Regions from separate parts of the Homo sapiens genome. Here all the other regions are linked to region 4. The links are contacts of gene promoters, found by promoter capture Hi-C in blood cells and fetal thymus (Javierre and others, 2016). All regions are on one chromosome and are shown on one strand. The core of a region is centred on a gene start or on the middle of the fragment in contact, and the rest is flanking DNA. Distances in the headings are between cores, read along the strand shown.

Evidence for each region. The method cuts DNA at HindIII sites, captures the fragments that hold promoters and counts their contacts. A CHiCAGO score of 5 or more calls a contact.
Region 1: a fragment that was not itself captured here is called in contact with the fragment with the promoter of ADM in region 4 in 8 of 17 cell types (activated CD4 T cells, naive CD8 T cells, naive B cells and 5 more); the score reaches 8.6 in activated CD4 T cells.
Region 2: a fragment that was not itself captured here is called in contact with the fragment with the promoter of ADM in region 4 in 1 of 17 cell types (naive B cells); the score reaches 6.5 in naive B cells.
Region 3: the fragment with the promoter of WEE1 here is called in contact with the fragment with the promoter of ADM in region 4 in 5 of 17 cell types (naive CD8 T cells, total B cells, activated CD4 T cells and 2 more); the score reaches 6.0 in naive CD8 T cells.
Region 5: a contact is called between a fragment that was not itself captured here and the fragment with the promoter of ADM in region 4, in 1 of 17 cell types (naive B cells). The highest score is 7.1, in naive B cells.
Region 6: a contact is called between a fragment that was not itself captured here and the fragment with the promoter of ADM in region 4, in 2 of 17 cell types (naive B cells and total B cells). The highest score is 6.9, in naive B cells.
Region 7: a contact is called between a fragment that was not itself captured here and the fragment with the promoter of ADM in region 4, in 1 of 17 cell types (neutrophils). The highest score is 5.5, in neutrophils.

What each region holds. Positions count from the first base shown.
Region 1 is chr11:9,778,148-9,781,736 of GRCh38, forward strand. SBF2 (SET binding factor 2) reads right to left here. Exons shown (of 40, transcript NM_030962.4): 39 at 3,360-3,491; 40 at 521-2,369. The coding sequence ends at 2,271. All of the region lies in intron 1 of SBF2-AS1 (SBF2 antisense RNA 1), which reads left to right. LOC105369149 (a long non-coding RNA gene) reads left to right here and starts at 2,400. Exons shown (of 3, transcript NR_188521.1): 1 at 2,400-2,428. The HindIII fragment of the contact is 5,847 bases long and covers 1-3,589 here.
Region 2 is chr11:9,593,055-9,596,782 of GRCh38, forward strand. No RefSeq gene overlaps it. Among named protein-coding and RNA genes, the nearest start is that of WEE1, 21 kb to the left of the region's middle. RefSeq lists silencers at 3,407-3,456, 3,617-3,686. The HindIII fragment of the contact is 1,713 bases long and covers 1,466-3,178 here.
Region 3 is chr11:9,571,682-9,575,284 of GRCh38, forward strand. WEE1 (WEE1 G2 checkpoint kinase) reads left to right here and starts at 1,989. Exons shown (of 11, transcript NM_003390.4): 1 at 1,989-2,828. The coding sequence starts at 2,253. RefSeq lists an enhancer at 1,215-2,067 and silencers at 1,642-1,991, 2,012-2,221, 2,512-2,611. The HindIII fragment of the contact is 14,841 bases long and covers 1-3,603 here.
Region 4 is chr11:10,303,757-10,307,365 of GRCh38, forward strand. ADM (adrenomedullin) reads left to right here and starts at 1,317. Exons shown (of 4, transcript NM_001124.3): 1 at 1,317-1,473; 2 at 1,924-2,042; 3 at 2,193-2,342; 4 at 2,576-3,609. The coding sequence starts at 1,945. The coding sequence ends at 2,885. It also overlaps a transcript of SBF2 not described here. RefSeq lists silencers at 229-288, 779-878, 1,059-1,108, 1,789-1,838, 1,859-1,908 and 2 more. The HindIII fragment of the contact is 5,037 bases long and covers 1-3,609 here.
Region 5 is chr11:9,722,257-9,725,808 of GRCh38, forward strand. SWAP70 (switching B cell complex subunit SWAP70) reads left to right here. Exons shown (of 12, transcript NM_015055.4): 4 at 2,402-2,629. Among named protein-coding and RNA genes, the nearest start is that of SBF2-AS1, 34 kb to the right of the region's middle. The HindIII fragment of the contact is 541 bases long and covers 1,880-2,420 here.
Region 6 is chr11:9,518,660-9,522,128 of GRCh38, forward strand. The region is part of intron 14 of ZNF143 (zinc finger protein 143); the gene reads left to right. Among named protein-coding and RNA genes, the nearest start is that of WEE1, 53 kb to the right of the region's middle. The HindIII fragment of the contact is 2,643 bases long and covers 200-2,842 here.
Region 7 is chr11:9,635,910-9,639,577 of GRCh38, forward strand. No RefSeq gene overlaps it. Among named protein-coding and RNA genes, the nearest start is that of SWAP70, 26 kb to the right of the region's middle. The HindIII fragment of the contact is 7,235 bases long and covers 1-3,668 here.

The DNA of each region.
Region 1 (3,589 bases), core at 858-3,357, 520 kb before region 4:
AACCCCATCTCTACTAAAAATACAAAAAATTAGCTGGGCGTGGTGGTGGGCCCCTGTAGTCCCAGCTACTTGGGAGGCTGAGGCAGGAGAATGGTGTGAACCCGGGAGGTGGAGCTTGCAGTGAGCCGAGATTGCGCCACTGCACTCCAGAACTCCAGAGCCTGGGCAACAGAGTGAGACTCTGTCTCAAAAAAAAAAAAAAAAAAAAAGTTCCCTGAAGCAGAAAAATCTGCTGCTCAAACAGACTTCAATGTCTCATGCCTAAAATTTTCACAAATTACCATATACTCTGGGTGGTGGAATGGACCCAGAATAGGTAAGGGACTTAAGCAATTTCAAACAGCTTATTAGAGACAGTGGTAGGAGTGGCAGCACATATGAGAATCTTGGCCTCAAGTCTCTTACCTAAACTCTGCAGAAGTGTGTCTGGAACCCAGAAGCTCATGCTAACATGTCCAGTATCCCTAGTTACTTCTTGAGCAAAGGGCAGTGATGACATTAGGAGAATGAAGGAACAAAGTGGGTCATGCTTTGTTTTATTCTTGAACCTTTAGTCCCATGTATGAATCCTGAGTGTTACCCTCCTGAATGCTGTGCACTACAGAATGAACTTTAGTTCACAGTAAATGAGGGATGCTTTTTCTTAAGAAATAAATTTAATTCAAGGTGGTTAGTGAATGTGAGGCAATGTAATGCCTTCACGAAAGTTAAAGTAATCCAGTTACAAAAGAAGCACTGTGTATAGTCTCAAATAGCTGAAGGTACAATGGGCTCCATATTTTACAAAGTACAAAAAATTATTTCATATACAAAGAAAAATACAAATAATGTGCAAAAACCATTTTCACAGGTGGCAATTTATAAAATGGAAATGATAGAAAAGTCCTTCATTCTTAATTATCCCCAGATTTCTTATATATTAACACAGTTCTATTTCCTAGTGTGTGGACAATTTTAAATTTGAAATTCTGATTTATTTTTAATCTACAAAGTATTTTTATTTTTTAAAAGGGAACCATTTCATTATTGAAATCTTATGAATGCATCAGTTAATTTATATTAAATTATAAGCAGGCTATCTGAAAAACAAGGATATAGAAATCATATATACACATTTTTGAAATATTAGTTTAGTATTTAACATATTAACATTTCAAAACAAATGCAATGATCTAGCTACCTATGACGCCAGCTGGTGTCAGTGGTTGTAGCGAAGATGCTGTTTCTGTTTACCATGAGCAAACAGCATTTCTTGGGTCTTAAGCTAAACAATCACAAGTTATCAAAGTAAAGAAAATCTAAAGACAGTTCTTACTTTTCATGTGTAGAAGTGTAGTTTGGGTATCCAGTCATGCCACAGTGTGACTGTGGTCAACACAGCCCTTGTCACAGGTGCGTATGGTCCTAAATAGCTGGCCTCTGTCTTTCCAACATCTTCACTTCATTGGGAATTCAGTGCAAGTGTTTGTTTTGTGAGTTAGTGCATTCAGCTTTTTTTGCATGTTATTTTGAAAAAGAAGCTGTCAGGAAGCAGAAGATACATAAGAACACAAGGCCCTGGATCCTCAGAGCACCTCTGGTCTAGAGAATTCAGTGTTTTGGAAGTAGTGTTTTCCTGCATTGGGCTGGTCATTGTTGTACCATTCCCTGGATAATCTTTTTCCATCAGAATAATGCTGTGTGCTCCCTCTTTGCCTGCTACTGAACAATGACGTCTCTTGTTGTGAACCCCACTGGCAGAGCACGGACCATGGAAGCATCTTTTGGCAGCACCAGAGAACTGAGCATCTCAAAGGTCAGGCATTACAAGTAGATGTCTCTCATAGGAAACCTAGTCCAGGTAGAATATGAGACAATCTTGGAGGGTTTTGATTTTTGCTTGTTAAACAGGTCTCCGAGGAAATTATGACCTCAGAGAACAAAAAAGGATCTATAGCTTTCATGAAGAAGGACCCAAGTAGGTGGTAGCCATTTTGCCTGGGTGAGGTTCACAGTTGGCTCAGGAGACATCTTCTGATCATTAACCACTAAGACCCTGTTAGAAAAATTTAGTGCAAGATACAGGGAGTGCATGGGGCTGTTGACCAGACCTGTGTGAAACACCTATTCAGGTTAAGTAGATATAGCAACCCCTGCAAGAGGGGACTGGGCAGGAGAACCTCAGGCCCTGGGATAACTTGTTGTCAGCTCCTCAAGGATCCATGCTTCTTTTTCTATCTATCTGGCAGCATGAGTTCTTCTGTTTCTTCTGCGTGGGTTGACCATGGGCATCAGGCATCAGAGATACAACTCTGGATCTTGTCCATCCATTGCTGGGCACTCTGTCCATCCTGGGCGCAGAAGTTATACACACGTTTGCTGGTCTTGAGCTACAAAACCAAATGACAGTGAACCAGAGATGAAGGGCAGGGCTGTTTTATGGATTTGGGTAAGTGGTAAATCAGTTCCTGTGACCTTTCTTTTCCATACTGCCCCAGAACGTCTGTATGAATTTTTCTTCCTCAACTACCATACTGTTATTGCCTTTACTTTTGTGGTCTCTAGAGTCATAGGGGATGTTGATAGAAGGGTACTGGCAGGAAAGGGAGACACACTGGGAGCGCCTTATTTTGCATTTTCTTAGTGTCGTCTTTGACTAAGGAGGAAGGGTCAGCAATGAATGGTGCCTTTAACCTTTCCCATGCACTGCACCAATGCACTGAAGGTGAGGGAGCTCCTTGTGCTCCAGGGGGATGCCTGAGATTCATGCATACCATAAAGTTGGCCTTCGTGTCCCCTTTCTTTAGTTGGAGCCATATTGGAAGCCCACTGTCAGGAAAACGGTCTCATGGCCTGAGCAGGGCCATAGAGGATGACCTATCCTCTTTATAAAGCCCTGCTTGACTCCAGGGACTACATAAGTCTCCTTCTATTATGTGGCCTATAAAGTGCCCCATGGCCTACCTAAGGGCTGCTGAAGATGTTAGCGTAGACACTTATCATGTGTGACTAAGGACAGTCTTTTGTGGGTAGTCAAGCACGAAGACCACTGAATACTAGGGAAATAGCATCTGTTCTTGAAAGTAGGTGGTGACTGAAATAACTAACAACATTTAACAAGGAGTTCATCTGTTTCCATGTGCGCTGGACTCCTTTTGCACAAAGCAATATGTAGCTTTTCTGAGACATACAGACAGGAAGAGAGGATAGCCTTGGGGGTCAATAATGCTGAGTTCAAGCTCTGGAACAATTCCCATAGCCAAGGGGGTCTGTCATCCATCTGTAGTCACCACCAATTACTCTGAGGGCTCCATCATTCTTGGAGACAGACAGAATGATGTGCAGACAGAGCCAGGAAAAGAGAAGTAAGATCAACTTACATCAAAGAAAGCCTTGTCACTTGTGTGCTTTGGGGCTCCCATGCTGGGGCCAGCAGGGATGACCATTTCTACTTCAGCCAGATCAATGTGGCCTTTACAGCTTGTGTCCTCACCTGAGTCATAGTAGCGCAGCTGGAACCAAAAGGATACAAGTGAGATATAAGAGACAGAAAGAGAAAATGCCATGGCTTTTCAAACTGCATTTGAATACCTTCCTCTGTACCTTGGTT
Region 2 (3,728 bases), core at 1,072-3,571, 710 kb before region 4:
AAACTGATAATATTGCTAGACATTTCTCGGAAGCTCAGCAAAGTAGATTTTTATAAAAATGGAAGAATAAGACGTCATTGCAACTGTCCCTCTCCCAACATTTAGCATTCAAAAACTTTTGAGAGGCATTCATCTGAACATTACTGAACTTTTTTTTTCCTTTGTGGCAGATGACCCTAATTTTCAGTGCAAATTCAAAGGTCTCTGGAGTAAGGAAAAATATCTATGTATGCCCTAGGAAGATTCACCAGGAAAAGATGGCATGTTGTGTCCAAACTTCATTAAACTAAGAGTCAAAGAAACTTCGGCCAGTCCAGCCCATGAAGAAAAATACCTCAAAGGAACATTTACATCACAGTTCACATTGTTTAGTTTTATATGGTTAATAAACATTTTGAAGAGCATATACTTGTTCTGATTTTTGACATAGTTGTGGCATGAAATAGGTTTCCAGGCCTGGAATTCCAATTTATGCTTACTAATTCATTATGCCAATGGGAAATACAGGGTTTTTTTGCTTGATTTTGTTTTTTTGTTTTTGAGACGGGGTCTTGATCTGTTGCCCAGGCTCCAGTGCAGTGGCGCAATCTTGGCTCACCACAACCTCCACCTGCTGGGTTCAAGCAATTCTCCTGCCTCAGCCTCCCAAGTAGCTGGGACTACAGGCACCCGCCACCATGCCCGGCTGATTTTTGTATTTTTAGTAGAGACAAGGTTTCACTATGTTGGCCAGGCTTGTCTGGAACTCCTGACCTTGTGATCTGCCCACCTCAGCCTCCCAAAGTGCTGGGATTACAGGTGTGAGCCACCGCACCCAGCTTGGAAATATAGGTTTGGTATACAATTCAATTTAGGATGATTATCCAGGAGAGGAGGAACTTTTTTGCAGGTGAGAGTATGAAGGCTCAAGGGAGTAAAATAATTTAGGAAATCAATTTAGTAGGTAGCAGAGTCAGAATTCCAACTCAGATCTCATAGCAAAGAATCATGCTTTTTCTAGACATATGAAGGTTGAAGACAAATACTAATTAAAGAGGCGATCTCCAATCTTTTGGGCACCAGGGACCGGTTTTGTGGAAGGTAATTTTTTCACTGGGGTTGGGGTGTTGCAGGGGAATGGTTTCAAGGTGATTCAAGCACATTACATTTATTGTGCACTTTATTTCTATTATTATTACATTATAATATGTAATGAAATAATTATACAACTCACCATAATGTAAGTCAGTGGGAGCCCTGACCTTGTTTTCCTGCAACTAGATGGTCCTGTCTTGGGGTGATGAGAGACAGTGACACATCATCACGGATTAGGTTTTTACAAGAAGCATGCAACCTAGAGCCCTCGCTTGTGCAGTTCACAGTAGAGTTCGTGCTCCTAGGAGAATCTAATGCCACGGCTGATCTGATGGGAGGTGGAGCTCAGGTGATAATGCAAGCAATCGGGAGCAGCTGTAAATACAGATGAAGCTTCTCTGGCTTGCCCGCTGCTCACCTCCCGCTGTGCGGCCCGGTTCCTAACAGGGCACGAACTGGTACCATGGGGGTTTTGCCATTAATTCAGGGGTTGAGAACCCCTGAGTTAAAAGACAGTGTTCAGGCAGCAAAGGAGAGTAAGAAGGTGCAGGCTGAGAATTAGGAAAACTGGATGGAATCTGACAGAGAATAAGAGAATTTTGAAGGAGAAATTGATTAACTGTGACTAATACAGAAAAGATTGAACAATGACTCAAAGCTCTGTGAAGGTATCTAGAGTTCATTAGAAGATATTTGGTGAGCGGTGTCAGTACAGGGGAAACAGCCAGATTACAATGGGTTGAGATGTAAATGGGAGATGAGGAAATAGAGATAGCAAGCACAGATCATTTGCAAGAAGCATGGCTGAAAGAGAAGGGGAAGGGAGGAGAGAGCTATAATTAGAGGGGAATCTTCTTTGGGTTTTGCTGGGGTGTTTTGTTTTGTTTTGTTTTGCTGAGATAGGGTCTCACTTTGTAGCCCAGACTGGAGTACAGTGGCCCAATTTTGGCTCACCACAGGCTCGACCTCCCAGGCTCAAATGATCTTCCTGCCTCAGTCTTTCAAGTAGCTGGCGACACAAGTGTGCACTACCACTCCTGGCTAATTTGTGTATTTTTGGTAGAGCCAGGGTTTTGCCATGTTGCCCAGGCTGGTCTCAAACTCCTGGGCTCAAGTGATCTGCCCGACTAGGCCTCCCAAAGTGCTAGGATTACAGGTGCGAGCCACTGCACCTGGCCTGGGTTTTGCTGATTTTGGTATTATTTATCATCTACGTGCTAAGTGTTTTACATACATAATGACATTTAATCCTCATAAGAACTCTGTGACAAAATCCCCATTTTTCAAATGGTTTTTAAGAGAGGTAAAATGTTTCCCCAATTACAAAGCTACAGCATCAGGATACGAAGCTACAGCATCAGGATTCAAACCTAAAGTGTTTGGCTGAACCACTAGCCAAATTTGTAGCAAGTTCTCTGAGTTTGGAGCGGAGGAAGAATAAGTGTGAATGAGACAAGTTTTGGGAAGTGCAGGAAATGGGGAGGGGAATTCCAGTTTAATGCTCTCTCCTCTGAAGTTGGAATTGTGTCCCAGGAACTGAAAGTGCCTCAGGGGACTGAGGACAGAGGCACATGTATAGAAGGAATGCCTCCTCACTCTGCTGCTGCTGCCTTCTTTCCTTCTGGATGAAGTGGCTAAAAGTCTTCAGAGGGCCAGGAGCGGTGGCTCACGCCTGTAATCCCAGCACTTTGGGAGGCCGAGATGGGTGGATCATTTGAGGTCAGGAGTTCAAGGCCAGCCTGGCCAACATGGTGAAATCCCGCCTCTACTAAAAATACAAAAATTAGCCAGGTGTGGTGGCAGGTGCTGTAATTCCAGCTACTTGGGAGGCTGAGACAGAAGAATCACCTGAACCTGGGAGCTGTAGGTTTCGGTGAGCTGAGAATATGCCACTGCACTCCAGCCTGGGTGAGTCTTTAGAGTATACTATATAGATATTTAAAGCAGCGTTTCAAGAAGTTTTTATGATTAGAGAAATTTATGTGTTATAATAAAGTAAGAAAAAAAACAGCAAACAAAATTGTACACATGGGATTGTTGTTAAAGCATTAAAAGAATGAAGGCCAACAACAGCTGTCATTTACGTGACTGGTGGGATTACTGAAGCTTTCCCACTCTTTTTTCCTTTTAAAAAATATTTGAGGCCGGGGCCGGGCGCCGTGGCTTACGCCTGTAATCCCAGCACTCTGGGAGGCCAAGGTGAGCGGATCACCTGAGGTCGGGAGTTTGAGACCAGCCTGACCAACATGGAGAAACCCCCGTCTCTACTCAAAATACAAAATTAGCTGGGCATGGTGGTGCATGCCTGTAATCCCAGCTACTGTGGAGACTGAGGCAGGAGAATCGCTTGAACCCTGGAGGTGGAGGTTGCAGTGAGCTGAGATGATGCCATTGCACTCCAGCCTGGACAATAAGAGCGAAACTCCATCTCAAAAAAAAACTCGAGCTCAAGAGTTCAAGACTAGCTTGGGCAACATAGTGAAACCCCCATCTCTACTAAAAATACAAAAATTAGCCAGGCGTGATGGCATGCACCTGTAGTCTCAGCTACTTGGGAGGCTGAGGTTGGGAGGATCACCTGAGCCCAGGAGGCGGCAGTTGCAGTGAGCCAAGATCTGCACTCCAGCCTGGATGTCAGAGCAATACCCTGTCTC
Region 3 (3,603 bases), core at 739-3,238, 730 kb before region 4:
TTTCAAGAAAAATTCAGCTTGAGTTTATTTAGCCTTTGAAAAGCATTAGAACAACATATATGACAAAGTGTTAATATGCATAAAGTGCTAACAATAAGAAAAATAGGCAATAGAGATAAATGTAAATTATCATTAAACCCATGACAACTGTTCAACAATATGAATCAAAACAACAAAACCACATCAACGAACATCCACTGATGTCCTGAATTCACAGAGTGTGCTCTAATCCACTGCTAGTGAGAATGTATTGTGTTTCTGGAGGGGGAGTTTGCCAGTTTATATCCTTTGACTGAGGAATTCTAACTCCAGGGAGGTATCCAAAAGAGTATTTTAAAAAGGCCAGGCGCGGTGGCTCACGCCTGTAATCCTAGCACTTTGGGAGGCCGAGGCGGGCAGATCACCTGAGGTCAGGAGTTTGAGACCAGCCTGCCAACATGGTGAAACTCCGTATTTTGCATTTTGTAAAAATACAAAAATTGGCCAGGCCTGGTATGTGCTTGTAATACCAGCTACCCGGGAGACAGGAGAATCGCTGGAACCCGAGAACCCGGGAGGTGGGGGCTGCAGTGAGCCGAGATCGCGCCACTGCACTCCAGCCTGGGGCGACAGAGCGAGACTCCGTGTCGAAAAAAACCAAACCAAACAAAAAACATGGAGAAGGAAGCATATACACCACGGGGTTGTTTACAACAGAAAACTGGAAGAGGCCGGGAGCGGTGGTTCACGTCTGTAATTCCAGCACTTTGAGAGGCCGAGGCGGGCGGATCACTTGAGATCAGGAGTTGGAGACCAGCCTGGCCAACATTGGGAAGTTCGTCTCTACTAAAAATACAAAAATTAGCCAGGTGTGGTGGCAGCCGCCTGTAATCCCAGCTACTCGGGTGGCTGAGGCATGAGAATCGCTTGAACTCTAAAGGCGGAGGTTGCAGGTTGTAGTGAGCCGAGATCGTGCCACTGCACTCCAGCCTGGGTGACAGAGCAAGACCCCGTCTCAGAAAAAAAAAAAAAAATAAATAAACAAAGAAAGAAAAAAGAAAACTGGAAGAAACGTGTAAGTGCATTAAGGGACAGATTAAATCAGTTTAACGAAGCACTAGGGAAATTTTTTAAAATTGCGTTTGAGTTTGCCGCGAGCCGGGCCAATCGGTTTTGCCAACGCATGCCCACGTGCTGGCGAACAAATGTAAACACGGAGATCGTGTGCCGGGCACTTGGTTTCGTGGTGGGCAACTGTGCTGCTGTTTCTTTTGGCCGCGGACAAGGTCGGCAGAGGTGGACCCCTGCTTGGGAGAGCTCTTCTCGCTGTGCTGACACCCGCCCCTAACAGTCACCCACCCCGGGGAAATAATGGGGCTCGGAGGCCTCCTCCCAGCCAGTGTCCAGCCTAAGCACATCGGCTCCCGCAGTTCAGAAAGGTCCCGAGGCCCGAGTCACCATTTCCGGCTCAGACCTCGACCCTGAACGTGGCTGCCCACTGCCACGCCCACTACGCCCCAGTGGCTCGCCCCAGGGGACGAGGGGCAAGAAGCGGCCTCCGAGGGCAGCGGCCGAAGGCCATTCGGTCCCTGGCTCTTCCCAGCTCGCAGAGACCCGGAGGCGCTGCCCGGCCGCCTGCCCCTCTTCAGATCCCCCAGCACCGGAGGAGCAGCGAGGGGGGTGCGTCCAGGCCGGCTTTCGGGTCGGCTTAGGCGAATCCAGCTCTCTTTTGCCCCTCCCAGAAGGCCCAGCCCCGTCCGGGCGGTGTTCGGGCGGCGCCGGGCCGGGCCCCCCGCCGCCCCAGGCTCGCTCATAGGCCCGGAACACCACAGCCCGCCCAGACTTGGCTGGCGCCGAGCCGGGGGTGGAGCCAGCGGGTTCCCGCCAAAATCGCGTAGCTGGTCCTTCCCCCGCGGGCTACGTCGCGCCCTCCTTTTTTTTTCAAACCCGGAGCTGCACTGGGATTGGTGGACTGGGCACTCACGTGGTTAACGGTCGCGGGAAGCCGCGGAGCCCGAACCTGAGACTGGACCTGAGGAGACCTCAGCCTCGGTGCTCGGGCCGCCCCGCCTCTGCCGGAAAGTCCGCGCCGCCGCTGCCGCCACCGTCCGCAGCCCGAGCGCCCCGGAGCCGCAGGCCGCCGCCGCGCAGAGACGCCGCGGCTGCGACTAGGCGCGCCCAGCCGCACGTGGCGGACCCGCCCCCAGGCCCGCAGTGTCCTGGACCCCGCAGGCCTCCGCTCTCCTGTCCTCGGCCCCGTCCCCAGGGCCGCGATGAGCTTCCTGAGCCGACAGCAGCCGCCGCCACCCCGCCGCGCCGGGGCGGCCTGCACCTTGCGGCAGAAGCTGATCTTCTCGCCCTGCAGCGACTGTGAGGAGGAGGAAGAAGAGGAGGAGGAGGAGGGCAGCGGCCACAGCACCGGGGAGGACTCGGCCTTTCAAGAGCCCGACTCGCCGCTGCCGCCCGCGCGGAGCCCCACGGAGCCCGGGCCCGAGCGCCGCCGCTCGCCCGGGCCGGCCCCCGGCAGCCCCGGCGAGCTGGAGGAGGACCTGTTGCTGCCCGGCGCCTGCCCGGGCGCGGACGAGGCGGGCGGTGGGGCGGAGGGCGACTCGTGGGAGGAGGAGGGCTTCGGCTCCTCGTCGCCGGTCAAGTCGCCGGCGGCCCCCTACTTCCTGGGTAGCTCTTTCTCGCCGGTGCGCTGCGGCGGCCCAGGAGATGCGTCGCCGCGGGGTTGCGGGGCGCGCCGGGCGGGCGAAGGCCGCCGCTCGCCGCGGCCGGACCACCCGGGCACCCCGCCACACAAGACCTTCCGCAAGCTGCGACTCTTCGACACCCCGCACACGCCCAAGGTGAGAGCGGCGGGCGCGGGCACCCGGCGGCCGGGGCCGCGGCGCCGGAGGGGCCAGCGCCGCTGCCTGGGTTCGGTTACAGAAGCGGCCGGCCGCTCCCCCCTCGCTTTCCTGCGCCGCCCCCCAAAGTTGGCAGCCCTTGTGTTTGGCCCTGCCCCGAGGTTGTCCGTTGAGATTATGTAACTGAACAATGGGCCTCGTCTGGAACTTCATCTTACAAAGGGGCCGATCGGCCCGTCCGGGTGGCCAAGGATTTGCCGCCCGTTGAGTCCGGGCCGCCCCGAGCGTGTCAGCCCCGAGTGCGGCACCGATAACGCGGTTCGCGAGGATGCTGGAGGGTGCCGGCCCGGCCACCTGACACTCCCGAGCCATAGGATGCCTTTTAAACGCGGCGATCGGGCCTGTAATTTGGGCGGCGCGGGCAGAAGGAGTTTAAAGAAAAATAATTGTCCCGCCCTGATCGTGTCGTGTCGTGTGGCGTGGATGGGGGAAAGGTCTGGGGCATGCAGGGAGACTACGCTTGGACTTGGGAGTAAAGGCTGGCCTTCCAAGCATTTACAGTCCTACAGACTCATCCTAAGTCCAGGCAGTACTGAGGCCTGTTTCTGGACAAGGTCTTGGCCCAGCATTTGTTTTTATCGTGGGTTTGCGGTGCCCAGAGTTTGGCCGGCCTCCGTGTGATTAGGAACATCCTACCGTAGATAAGGTATCTTAAAGAAGGAGGTGTTCAGCACCTGTGTTTTGAAAGGCCTTCGAGTACTGCGCAGATGACCAC
Region 4 (3,609 bases), core at 67-2,566:
GACCCCAGAAACCCACAAGCACGAAGCAGGAAGCCCCGTGGCTTAGCCTTTCCTTCCCAGTTTGGCCCCCAGGAGAGAAGTAAGAAAGAGAAGAAGCTGTGATGAAAGAGCACAAACGGGTGACAAACGTGTCTAGCGTGATTCATCATGAACAGGCACAAATTCTTTGGGCGGGGGCTAGGACTCTCCTTTGCCCCTTGAGAAGTTGGTGACCCCAGCCTAGAGGAATCCACGCCGCGCCCCAGTCGGCCGTGCTAGCGTGTCGGGCCGAGTAGGGACTCTGCTGCTTCCTACCTGCAGGGTGACTTCCCCTCTCTGCAGATACCTCCCCTCTCTGAGCTTGAATTTTCTACCTGCTGAAATGGGAAAAGGAATGTTACCTTCCTTGCCTGACTCAAGGGTGGCTGTGAAGCTCAAAGTAGACTGGGATGTGGCCGTGCTTGGTAAACTGTAAAATGATTAGCATACGTGAAGCGTTAGTGTGCTCCCTGGCAGTCAGTCCTCACGTTTACGATGGATTAATGAAGGCAGCCAGGCACAATCTCAGGTTATGACCTTATAAGGCATAATAGGATTACAAGGAGGCAAAATGAAACAGTATATTTCCTCCTAATTTTGGTTATTCCTATGTTTCCAAATAGAAATGAAAATTCTGAAATTTCAGATAATTCCCCCCTCCAAATCCCAATTCTCAATTTAGCTTTTCTGAGCCTTGTCCCTACCGTGAAATCTTACTAGCTCACCCCGAAACGCCGGGGTCTTGGTCCTCTGGGGGACTAGTGAGTCCTGCTCCTCTCGGCTTTGCTCCGTCCCTGCCCCGGCCCCTCCGCGGGAGTCTGGGGTCGCGGCCCGGTCAGGCGCCAAGCCGGCAGGGGGGCGCGGTCCACTTGAGGCCACAGCTCCCCAGGTCCAGGGCTCGGGCCATCCGCGCTGTCCCTTCCGCGGGCTCTTGCTGTTCTTCGCCAGGAGGCTTTGCACTCCGGGCCGCATGGGTCCTGGATAAGGACCTCAAGAGGTTGTAGTGGCGCCCCTTCGCTCCGGCGTACTGTCTGAACCCTGTGCCCAAAGAGGGCTGTGGCAGTTCCTGCACCAACCGCCTGGAGCCCATACCTAAGCCCTCTGGGCACGAGGGACCTCCTCTCCCCCGCTCCCCCCTCCCCCCATCCCAACTCCAGCCCCAAAGGAAGCAATGCGCGCGTCCGAGAGCAGGAGCGCGCGTGGCTGAGGAAAGAAAGGGAAGGCAACCGGGCAGCCCAGGCCCCGCCCCGCCGCTCCCCCACCCGTGCGCTTATAAAGCACAGGAACCAGAGCTGGCCACTCAGTGGTTTCTTGGTGACACTGGATAGAACAGCTCAAGCCTTGCCACTTCGGGCTTCTCACTGCAGCTGGGCTTGGACTTCGGAGTTTTGCCATTGCCAGTGGGACGTCTGAGACTTTCTCCTTCAAGTACTTGGCAGATCACTCTCTTAGCAGGTAGGTGCCGCAGACCCTGCGGGTTAAGAGGTGGGGTGGGGGGCAGTGCTTGCCAAGGCCCTAAACTGGGAGCGCTGGGTGAGGGGAACAACCCACTTTGGAGGGTTCTCTGAGAGATAGATACACCCCATATCCTGGGCCCAGCTCGTGCACACAGCTGGAGGTCCAGAGACCCAGTCCCCTCTGCTCCGTCAGCCAAGTTCCAAGAAGTTGAGCAGAGACCCTCTGGGAGCCTGGCGGGGTGCAGCGGCCTCCCCTGCGGGGCCTGTCACCCGGCCGGCGCGTGCAAACGCCTCTGGCGCCTCTCTGCGCGGAGGGAGATAAGCGTCTGAGCCAGGGAAAGCGCGGGCTAAACCCGCCTCGCCGGGGCCCCTGCCCGCCCTCCGTGCCCCGCCCGGGCGGTGCAGCTGGCCCGGGTGCTCACGCTCGACTCTCTTTCTTCTTTTCCAGGGTCTGCGCTTCGCAGCCGGGATGAAGCTGGTTTCCGTCGCCCTGATGTACCTGGGTTCGCTCGCCTTCCTAGGCGCTGACACCGCTCGGTTGGATGTCGCGTCGGAGTTTCGAAAGAAGTGAGTCCGGGCAGCGCCTTCCCCCTTGCTGGTACCTGGCAGGCAAGGGGAACTGACCGTTGGTCCCGAAGGTCTAGAAGTGAATGGGAGCAGGGACAGGCCTGGGCGTCACCTGAACGCACGCGAATCGGGTCTGCTTGTGTTTTCCAGGTGGAATAAGTGGGCTCTGAGTCGTGGGAAGAGGGAACTGCGGATGTCCAGCAGCTACCCCACCGGGCTCGCTGACGTGAAGGCCGGGCCTGCCCAGACCCTTATTCGGCCCCAGGACATGAAGGGTGCCTCTCGAAGCCCCGAAGACAGGTAACTACGCCCTGTGCTGTCCAGGGACGGGAGGGAAGGAAGGTGTGCGGGAGGAGTTCTCTGTCTCCACTCCCCTGGCCCGGGGGATCGTCGGGGCTGGACCGCAGCTCAGATGGCGCGAGCAGTTTCCAGCTCCCTCTGGCTCTAGAATGGCTCCCGTTCCCGGTGTTGGGGCCAAAGCTCTGCTTGATGGGGTCTCAAGTTGCCTTTCTTCCCCCTCCCCCCGCCCGCAGCAGTCCGGATGCCGCCCGCATCCGAGTCAAGCGCTACCGCCAGAGCATGAACAACTTCCAGGGCCTCCGGAGCTTTGGCTGCCGCTTCGGGACGTGCACGGTGCAGAAGCTGGCACACCAGATCTACCAGTTCACAGATAAGGACAAGGACAACGTCGCCCCCAGGAGCAAGATCAGCCCCCAGGGCTACGGCCGCCGGCGCCGGCGCTCCCTGCCCGAGGCCGGCCCGGGTCGGACTCTGGTGTCTTCTAAGCCACAAGCACACGGGGCTCCAGCCCCCCCGAGTGGAAGTGCTCCCCACTTTCTTTAGGATTTAGGCGCCCATGGTACAAGGAATAGTCGCGCAAGCATCCCGCTGGTGCCTCCCGGGACGAAGGACTTCCCGAGCGGTGTGGGGACCGGGCTCTGACAGCCCTGCGGAGACCCTGAGTCCGGGAGGCACCGTCCGGCGGCGAGCTCTGGCTTTGCAAGGGCCCCTCCTTCTGGGGGCTTCGCTTCCTTAGCCTTGCTCAGGTGCAAGTGCCCCAGGGGGCGGGGTGCAGAAGAATCCGAGTGTTTGCCAGGCTTAAGGAGAGGAGAAACTGAGAAATGAATGCTGAGACCCCCGGAGCAGGGGTCTGAGCCACAGCCGTGCTCGCCCACAAACTGATTTCTCACGGCGTGTCACCCCACCAGGGCGCAAGCCTCACTATTACTTGAACTTTCCAAAACCTAAAGAGGAAAAGTGCAATGCGTGTTGTACATACAGAGGTAACTATCAATATTTAAGTTTGTTGCTGTCAAGATTTTTTTTGTAACTTCAAATATAGAGATATTTTTGTACGTTATATATTGTATTAAGGGCATTTTAAAAGCAATTATATTGTCCTCCCCTATTTTAAGACGTGAATGTCTCAGCGAGGTGTAAAGTTGTTCGCCGCGTGGAATGTGAGTGTGTTTGTGTGCATGAAAGAGAAAGACTGATTACCTCCTGTGTGGAAGAAGGAAACACCGAGTCTCTGTATAATCTATTTACATAAAATGGGTGATATGCG
Region 5 (3,552 bases), core at 900-3,399, 580 kb before region 4:
TTTAGCAAACATTAGTTGAGCTCTGAGGTACCACGCTGAGCTTTGGGGATTAAAGATGAGTGGGACATGGTTCCTCCTACAAGGAATGCAGAAAATGGTAGAAAAGCGAATGAGTGAAAATACGTTAAGTGCAGTGACCTAGAAAAGGAACACGTGACCTGGGTTAGGGTTGGTCAGAGCAGGTTTGCTAAAGCAGCAGTGCTTCTCAAAACTTTAGTGTGCAAATGGAAGTACTAGGGGTTTTAATTAAAATACAGATTCTGATTTTTGGTCCTTTGGTTGGTCTGACAGTCTTCATTTCTAACAAGCTTCCAGGTGGTGCCGACGTCACTGGTCCGCATGCTTCGTTTTGAGTAGGAATATTCTAGAGGATGTAGGACTTGAATAAATACCAATTAACTGGGTCGAGAGGTGGGAAAAGGTATTCTAGACAGAGAAGACAGAGTGGGGAATGACATAAAGCATAAGGAAAATATGGTAAGAGGGTAAACTACTTATAATCTATGGCAAGTGGTGGCAAACTACAGCTTGCTGGCTAAATCCAGCCCACAGCCTATATTTGCGTGGCACATGTGCTAAGGAATAGTTTTTATATTTCTAAAGGGTTGTAAAAAAACAAAATCAAGGAAGAACACATGATAGGGAGGCACAAAGCTTAAATATTTACTGTTCAACCCTTTACAGTAAAAGTTTGCATCCCCTGATCTATGGTATTGGTGGTATTGGTGGAGTGTAAAGTCTGAGGTGGGACATGTTTGAGAAAGTAGGCTGGGGGATGATCACCAAGGGATGCAGAGGAGCTTGGCCTCTGTCTTTGAGGTGATAGGGAGCCAGGGCAGGGCTTAAAGAGGGGAGGGTCAGGCTCTGGCTTTTGTTTTAGAAAAATCCCTCTGGCAGAATATGTATAAAAGGTGGCGACCTGGAGGTACAGATACCAACCAGGAGGCCCGACCAAAAGCAGATCAAATAGGAGTGACAGAGTTCAGAGCTGCCTGGGACAAAGTTTTAAATTTTATTTTCACTGCAACCCATAGGAAGATAAACATTTTATATCATGACCCAGCACACACACACACTCAAAGCAAAACTTATCACAAAACACTATTTCTTTATTGTGGATGAACTCACATGTTTTTCATTCCATTAAAAAAAAATGCTGGTTGCTGCCCACTAAGTTGACTTCATAGTGGGCCATAACCCACAGTTTTCAAACTTATTAGGGAGCTCATTTAGGGAAATAAAACAGCAGGATTATATCCTTGGTTTGATGTGGGGGTTGGGGAGCAAGAATCCTGACATGGATGTGTGAATGGTGTTATTCCTAATGGAAATCAATAATACAGCGGGGAAGCCATTTGGAAAGTAGAGAGGATTCATTCATTTTTGGACATATGTTGAGTTTGAGAGCACTGTATAGGATATTTGGGCTTTCCAGAAAATAAGAGGTATCAATTCTCATTCAGTTTTACTGCCTTATTGTTTTGTTTAACTGCTGTTATTTCTTTCCTTCTTTACTTTTTTTTTTTTTTTTTTTTGAAACAAGAGTCTTGCTCTTGCCCAGGCTGGAGTGCAGTGGCACAATCGCCGCTCACTGCAACCTCTGTCTTCAAGGTTCAAACGATTCTCATGCCTCAGCCACCTGAGTAGCTGGGATTACAGGTGTGCGCCACATGCCTGGCTAACTTTTTTGTATTTTTAGTAGAGACAGGGTTTCGCCATGTTGGCCAGGCTGGTCTTGAACTCCATGCCTCAAGTGATCCTCCTGCCTTGGCCTCCCAAAGTGTTGGGATTATAGGCATGAGCCACTGCTCCTGGCCTAACTGCTATTATTTCAATAGCAGTATTTTCTACACAAAGTATGATGTTTTAGGATTTAGTAAGCTTTTCCTGCTCATGCTAGGTATTCCACCATTATTTACAACATTGTAGTGTTCCAGTGGGAGGAAGCAGCATGAATTTTAAATAATTGGCTTATGTGGAAAGTTTGTAAATTGATCAATAACTTGTACATATTACTTTGAGATGTTTAATTTAGCGCTTGTTTGTTGAGTAAGACTAATGTTCTGATATATTGAAATATTTAACAGCGAGTAATCAGATCACATTAATTAGTTTGTATGCTGTCATATATCTGCAGTTTGTTTTAGTTCTGCAGACAAATATACTACACTATTAGAGGGTTATCAGTTTTTGATTCCTTTACTTATTCTGCACTAATACAGACCAGTGGCATTTTATTTATACTTCTCTCCCTGTATTTTAGGAGACTCTAAAGGTAGGCATTTTTGGAACTGTAAAGAGTATTTCCTAAGTTGAACTTATCAGTGTTTATAACATAAATACATAACTATGTTAAAGTTTTTTTTAACTAGGAAATAATTATTTCACATTCTTTATGTAGATTGAATACCTGCTTAAGAAGCTTACAGAAGCTATGGGAGGAGGTTGGCAGCAAGAACAATTTGAACATTATAAAATCAACTTTGATGACAGTAAAAATGGCCTTTCTGCATGGGAACTTATTGAGCTTATTGGAAATGGACAGTTTAGCAAAGGCATGGACCGGCAGACTGTGTCTATGGCAATTAATGAAGTCTTTAATGAACTTATATTAGATGTGTTAAAGCAGGTAAGAATTCTGTTACTGTTTTTTTTTCTCATCTTTAGAATTTGACATTTTAAAATTAATATTTTTGTCACAAAGATGAGTATAAGTCACTTATTTTCTTACACTGATTTCGTTTTTTTATTTTTTGTTTTTTTGAGACAGTCTTGCTCTGTCGCCCAGTCTGGAGTGCAGTGACGTGATCTTGGCTTACTGCAACCTCCATCTCCTGGGTTCAAGGGATTCTCTTGCCTTGAAGGCATGCACCCCCATGCCCAGCTAATTTTTGTATATTTAGTAGAGATGGGGTTTTACCATGTTGGCCAGGCTGGTCTCGAATGCCTGACCTCAAGTGATCCACCCACGTCGGCCTCCCAAAGTGCTGGGATTACAGGTGTGACCCACTGGGCCTGGCCTGATTTTGAATAGGAATAAAATTTCTTATTTTTCCAGTCTTGTATTAGGCTTTCATTAAAAAAAATTATTTGTGCGATTTTAAAGTACAGTTAAGAATACAGTTAAAATATATATATATATTTTGGCTGGACGTGGTGGCTCATGCCTGTAATCCCAGCACTTTGGGAGGCTGAGGCGGGTGGATCACCAGGTCAGGAGCTCAAGACCATCCTGGCCAGCATGTTGAAACCCTGTCTGTATTAAAAATACAAAATATATATATATATATATATATATATATATATATATATATTTTTTTTTTTTTTTTTTTCCAAGACGGAATTTCACGCTGTCACCAGGCTGGAGTGCAGTGGCATGATCTTGGCTCACTGCAACCTCCGCCTCCCGGGTTCAAACAATTCTCCCGCCTCAGCCTTTTGAGTAGCTGGGACTACAGGTGTGCGCCACCACGTCCAGCTAGCTTTTGTATTTTTAGTAGAGATGGGATTTCACCAGGTTGGCCAGGACGGTCTCGATCTTTTGACCTTGTG
Region 6 (3,469 bases), core at 271-2,770, 780 kb before region 4:
TCAGCCGAGATTGCACCACTGCACTCCAGCCTAGGCAAAAAGAGTGAGACTCCGTCTTAAAGAAAAAAAAAAAAAAGCTTCTGGTTATTTTCATAGGAAACAAATTTTTGTATTAACGGTTTAAGCTATTTTAAGCTGCTTGTTACATATTGCCAAATTATTTTTCAGAAAGGTTTAGTAATCGTGTTATGGATCTAAAAGCTTTCTTTTTCACTGTACTCTTGCATTGAGGATTTTTTAAAATATTTACAGAATTAACAAGCAAAAGTTAAATTCTGTTTATTTTCATTTGACCACTGGTGAAGTTAAGCCTGTTTTTCATATTTGCCTGCAATCTGGTTTTTTCTTAATTGAGGTAAAATTTACATAACAATGAAATGCACAGATCTTAAATTTACAATTCAATGAGTTATGTTAAATATGCACCCATATAACTAACATCCTAAACAAAATGTAGAACATTTCTATCACGCTAGAAAGTTACCTTGTGATTCCTTTATAGTCAGTACTCACTCTCCTTAGGCAAAAACTGTTGTGATTGAATTAGTTTTGCCTATTTTTTTTTTTTTTGAGACAGAGCCTCACTCTGTCACCCTGGCTGGAGTGCAGTGGCACGTTCTCAGCTCACTGCAACCTCCCGCGCCTGGCTAATTTTTTTGTATTTTTAGTAGAGATGGGGTTTTAGCATGTTGGCCATGCTGGTCTCGAACTCCGGACCTCAAGTGATCTGCCCGCCTCGGCCTCCCAAAGTGCTAGGATTACAGGCGTGAGCCACCGCACCCAGCTTGGTTTTGCCTATTCTTGAACATTACATAAATGGAACCACAGTATGAACTCTTTTGTGTCTGGGTTTTTCTACTTAACGTTTTGGATATTTATTCACATTGTTGGCATGTAATAACAGTTCATTCTTTTTTATTGCTGAGCAGTGTTCTATTGTAAGAATATACCACAACTTGTTGATATATTCTCCCCTTGGTGAACATTTGAAATGCTTCCAGTTTTTGACTATTATGAATAAGATGGCAGTAAAAATATGTTTGTAGACATATACTCTCATTTGTCTTGGATAAATACCTATTTGTGGAATTGCTGGGTCATAGAATAGAGGCATATTTACCTTTCTATGATAGTACCAAACAATTCTCCAAAGTGGCTGGGCTGTCATACACTCCCACTAGCAATGTCTAAGAGTTCCATTTGTTCAGTGCTGCTTCTTGTGGTTAAAACGTTTTTAAAAAATAGGCTGGGCGCAGTGGCTCACACCTGTAATCCCAGCACTTTGGGAGGCCAAGGTCGGAGGATTGCTTGAGCCCAGGATTTTAAAACCAACCTGGGCAATGTAGCAAGACACTGTTTCCACCAATTTTTTTTTTTTTTTTTTTTTTTTTTTTTGAGACGGAATCTCCCTCTGTCGCCCAGACTGCAGTGCAGTGGCCCAATCTCGGCTCACTGCAACTTCCGCCTTCCGGGTTCAAGTGATTCTCCTGCCTCGGCCTCCTTAGTAGCAGGATTACAGGCACCCACCAGCATGCCCAGCTAATTTTTGTATTTTTAGTAGAGAGGGGGTTTCACCATGTTGGTCAGGCTGGTCTCCAACTCCTGACCTCAGGTGATCCACCCGCCTCGGCTTCCCAAAGTGCTGAGCCACTGTGCCTGTCCAATTTTTTTTTTTTTTTTTTTTTTTAATTAGCAAAGCATGGCAGCATATGCCTGTAGTCCCAGCTACTCTTGAAGCTGAAGTGGGAGGATCACTTAGCCCAGGAGGTTGAGGCTTTGGTGAGCCATGTTCATTGTACTACAGCCTGGATGACAGAGCAAAACCCTGTCTTCTAAAAAAAATAAAAAAGAGGCCAGGCACAGTGGCTCATGCCTGTAATCCCAGGAATTTGGGAGGCTGAGGCAGGTGGATCACAAGGTCAGGAGTTCGAGACCAGCCTGGCCAGCATGGTGAAACCCTGGCTCTACTAAAAATACAAAAAATTAGCATGGTGTGGTGTGCACCTTTAGTCCCAGCTACTCAGGAGGCTGAGGCAGGAGAATTGCTTGAACCCGGTAGGTGGAGGTTGCAGTGAGCTGAGATTGCACCATTGCACTCCAGCCTGAGTGACAGCGAGACTCCGTCTCAAAAAAATAAAAAATAAAAAAGAATTCTGTTTGTTTCATATTATCACCAACATTTGGAGTTGTTTTAAAGTTTTAGCCATTCTACTGGATGTTAAGTGGTCTATCATTGTGGTTTTAATTTACATATAAAAAAGCTAATATATCACTTGGTTATGATGTATTTTTGTATTTTGCTGGATTCAATTAGCTAATATTTTTTAAAGATGATTTTTTAGAGCTGTTATAGGTCACCACAAAATTGAGAGGTAGGTACAGAGACTTCCCTTACACTCCCTGCCCCCACACATACATAGCCTCCTGCATAATGAACACCCCCACCAGAGGAACACGTTTGTTACTGTTGAAACCTACACGTACACATCACAATCACCCAGAGTCCATCATTTACATCAGGATTCACTGTTAGTGTTGTACATTCTATGGGTTTGGACAAACGTATGATGACATACATCTATCAATAGAGGATCATACTCTATTAGAGTATTTTTACTGCCCTTAAAATCCTCTGTGACAATTTGCTAATATCTTGTTAAGGATTTTGGTGTCAATGTTTATGAACCATATTGATCTATAATTTATTATGAAATTATAAGAAAAAGTTTCATCTCCTGTTTCAATATCAGGGTTAGGCTTGCCTCATAAAACAAGTTGGGAAGTGTTCTCTTCTGTACTATTTTCTGATAGTTGTGTAAGATTGGTATTATTTCTCCATAAAAGCTTGATAGAGTTAATTAGGACACCACCATCTATGCCCAGAGTTTTCTTTTTGCGGAGGTTTTTTTTTGTTTTTTTTTTGTTGTTGTTGTTGTTGTTTTTTACTATGGATTCAAGTTTTTAAGTGGATCTATACTATTCAAGTTATCTATGTTTTTTTGTATCCATTTTGCTAAGTTTTGTTTTTGTAAGTTTGTCTGTTTCATCTAAGTTTTCATATTTATTGATATAAAGATGTTCATACTATTTCCTTATTATCTCTTTAATATACATAGGATCTGGGGGCCGGGTGCGGTGGCTCATGCCTGTAATCCCAGCACTTTGGGAGGCTGAGGCAGGTGGATCACCTGAGGTCAGGAGTTCAAGACCAACCCAGGGCAACATGGTGAAACCCCATCTCTACTAAAAATACAAAATTAGCCAGGTGTGGTGGCGCATGCCAGTAGTCCCAGCTACTCAGGAGGCTGAGGTGGGAGGATCATTTGAGCCCAGGAGGCAGAGGTTGCAGTGAACTGAGGTAGCACAGCTACACTACAGCCTGGGCGACAGAGGGAGACCCTGTCTCAAAAAAAAAAAAAAAAAAAGTCAGTGGAAGGTAAAGCAATTCTTAGAGGAAAATTTCTTTTAA
Region 7 (3,668 bases), core at 376-2,875, 670 kb before region 4:
TCATATCCATGTCCTTGCATATAATGTGCTCTTTTCTGTTTGTTTGTTTTGAGATGGAGTCTCGCTGTTGCCCAGGCTGGAGTGCAGTGGGGCGATCTCGGCTCACTGCAACCTCCGCCTCCAGAGTTCAAGTGATTCTTCTGCCTCAGCCTCCCAAGTAGCTGGGACTGTAGGCGCGTGCCACCACGCCTGGCTAATTTTTTGTATTTTTTTTAGTAGAGACGGGGTTTCACCACGTTTGCCAGGCTGGTCTCGGACTCCTGACCTCGTGTTTCGCCTGCCTCGGCCTCCCAAAGTGCTGGGATTACAGGCGTGAGCCACCACACCTGGCCCTATGTCTTTGCGTATGATGCGCTCTTTACCCAGGTACTTTTTTTTCCCCAGGTGACTGGGTCTCGTTCTGTCACCCAGTCAGGAGTGCAGTGGCATGATCCTAACTCACTGCAGCCTCAAACTCCTGGGCTCACACAATCCTCCTGCCACAGCCTCCCAAGTAACTAACCATACACTTTTGGCATTACTGCAGGCCAAATCCAACACGTCTTTCAAAGTCCAGCTCAATGGGTGCTGCTATGAAGCCTGACTAATCTTCTCAGCTTAAAGTTTTGTGTGCTTCCTCTGTATTTCTGCGATTGAAGAAGTCCACTGCAGTGTAAAGGACTCAAGCTGTGAATTGATATCAGGACTTAGGGGCTCAGGACCTGGCTCTGTTACTCCTTAGCTGCCTCTTTTTACCTATCTCAGCTTCAGTTATTATCTAAAACAGATGGAAATATTTCCCTCACAGAATTAAAGTCACTTTTATGACCATTTTGGTTTTGAGTGAAGGAAAATCCATCCTGAAGAGGGCATAGATTGGTTTATATAGGTGAAAAGTCCAGGGGTAGAGATGGCTTCAGGCATGGGGTGGACTCAAAGCTCAAATGCTATCAGCAGGAGTCTGACTATCTTCTCTAAGAGCTGCCTTTTGCTCTGTCACCTTTATGCCCAGGTTCAAAGAGTAGCCTGATGGCTGGCAGCACTCTTAGAACCCAATCTTTCTGCTTCAAGTCCAGCTGACTAGCTTGAGAACATCTTTCTCAAGTCACAACAAAGTTATCACGGACTCTCATTGGGTCATGTGCCCATCCCTGAGGTGGTCACTATGGCCAGGAGAATTTGATGCTTGGATTGCCTAGGGCCCAGGGGACTTGTTCTACCTCAGACCCTGGGGTGCATCCCTGGCAGCAACACATGGGATGAGTGTGGGTGGGTGGAGTTTCTGCAATGAGAAGTTAGGGTGCATTTCCAGCATGGTGAAAGGATGCTAGATGAGAATAACTGCAGAGCTCCACCATAGTTGTGCTGGGGATCAAGTGAGACAATATGAGGAAACTGACTTCGAAAGTCCTGATCAGGCTAGGCGTGGTTATACCAGCACTTTGGGAGGTCAAGGCAGGGAGATTGCTTGAGGCCAGGAGTTCGAGACCAGCCTGGGCAACGTGTCAAGACCCTGTCTCTACCAAAAAACAAAACAAAACAAAAACCAAATTAGCCAGGTGTGGTGACATGTGCCTATAGTCCTAGCTACTCAGGAGGCTGAGGTGGGAGGATTGCTTGAGCCCAGGAGTTCGAGGTTGTAGTGAGCTATGGTGGTGCCATTGCACTCCAGCATGGTGACAGAGAGAGACCCTATCTCAAAAAAACAAAAAAGAAGTCCTGTTCAAACATAAATGATTATTATTATTTGGTTATGTTTCTCTGTGGCACTTAGCACTTTTTTCCTTCTAGCCAGAGTTACCCACTTCATAGTTTAATCTTCCCTACTCCACCCTGAGCAGCTGGAGAGCACGGTCTGTGTTCTAGTAATCTCTAGAGGATTCCACCATTTCAACTCAGCACCCAGAAAATATAAGGTACCCAATAGATGATTGTGGAATAACTTGATTAGTCTGAAATCCAAAGCATTGCGCCCAGAGTTCTGTTAATCCCTAGGCCAAAATCTCAAAAGGCTTTCAAGAACTTGAACCTTTCCCTGGAATCATAGCTAAATAAGCTCTGGCCTTTTTCATAGTGGGTGGGGTGAGATAAATAATTTCAGGAAGATGTGTCCTTGCATTGATTTGTTCACCTGGCCAACCTAAGGCCATCCAGAGAAAGAAAAGTCTTGGTTTGTTTATTTTCTGTTTATTTATTAAATTTCTGGTTTATTTTGCTCTTACTGCCCTCGTTAAATGGTGTGGGCTTCAGGAAAGTGCAGACTGAATGAAGTAACTTCCCGAAGGCGCTGACCTGCAGGGCAGGTTTGGGGCTCCCTCCTGGTCCAGGAGGCCTAAGCGTCCAGGAAGTTTTGAGTTTAATGAAAGGAATTGGTGATCAGTTCTAGTCAAACATCTGGGAGCCCAGCCCAGGTGTTCTCCCTCATGTCTGTGTTGTGTTCATGTCCTTCGATTTCCTATCTGAACACGGAGTCTGGAGCTCCTGAGGATCACAGGAGTTTGGAAAACCAAAAAAACCTTTTTTCTTTCTTTCTTTTTTTTTTTTTTGAGATGGAGTCTCACTCTGTCGCCCAGGCTAGAGTGCAATGGCGGGATCTCAGCTCACTGCAACCTCCATCTCCTAGGTTCATGTGATTCTCCTGCCTCAGCCTCCCAAGTAGTTGGGATTACACGTGCTCACCACCACACCCAGCTAATTTTTGTATTTTTAGTAGATACGGGGTTTCACCATGTTGGTCTGGCTGGTCTCGAACTCCTGACCTCAGGTAATCTACCCACCTCAGCCTCCCAAAGTGCTGGGATTACAGGCATGAGCCACCATGCCTGGCCAGAAAGGCAAAGAGGGAATGAAGGACCCAGATCACCTATTGAAATAGTCTACATGTGGCCCCAGTCCCAGAATTAGCTGGAGCTACTTTTTGGCTGATTTTGCAATGGAGACATTAATTCTTTTCAGCCACAAGCATTAAGTAGAAAAGGTAATGTGGCTTAACTTATAATATACTGACCCACTAGTTTTCAACCTGCCTCATCTTATGTTGCAGCAATGATGCTATTCTAGGAACTTGGGCCTTACCAGGGCAGAAACAACAGGGCCATGCTTTACAGAAGGAAAGTTCCATGATTGCAGGTATCTGAGGAAGTTCATACGCACATAATTAAATTATAGTCTTTGTTAGAAACAGGGTTTCAGCTCTCGTAGACCAAAGACAATTGCTGATGGGTAGGAAGTGGGAATGAGAACAGTCCAAGGACATTGTTGGCAGGCCAAGGGTCACCAAAGGAAACTCTGAGCTGGGCGGGTCAGCAGCACTCGGCCAGCGCTTGGCAGGCTCTGCAGCATGAGCTGGGTGTTGCTTAAAAGGAACTCCCTGTACCACATCTTCCCTTCCTGGATGGTCCAAGTCACTCCCAACTCACTTCTGGAAAGATGTCCCTTGACTTCCAGGTTCTGACCTTGCTTCCCCTTGGTGCCTCTGTCTCTTCCCCAGCTGGCATCTTATCTCGCTTCCTGACCCTAGCTTCCTGTCTGGGCCTCAACAGTGCTCTGAGAACTTCTTCTTTGGGTAATGCTCCCCCTGCCTAACTGCCTTTTTGTCTCTCTTCCCGACATGCAATCACAGGTGCTCTTCCCAGGGACCTTAGGCAGTATGGCCTGATGGAAGGAGCCTGGATTTTGAAGCCAAACAG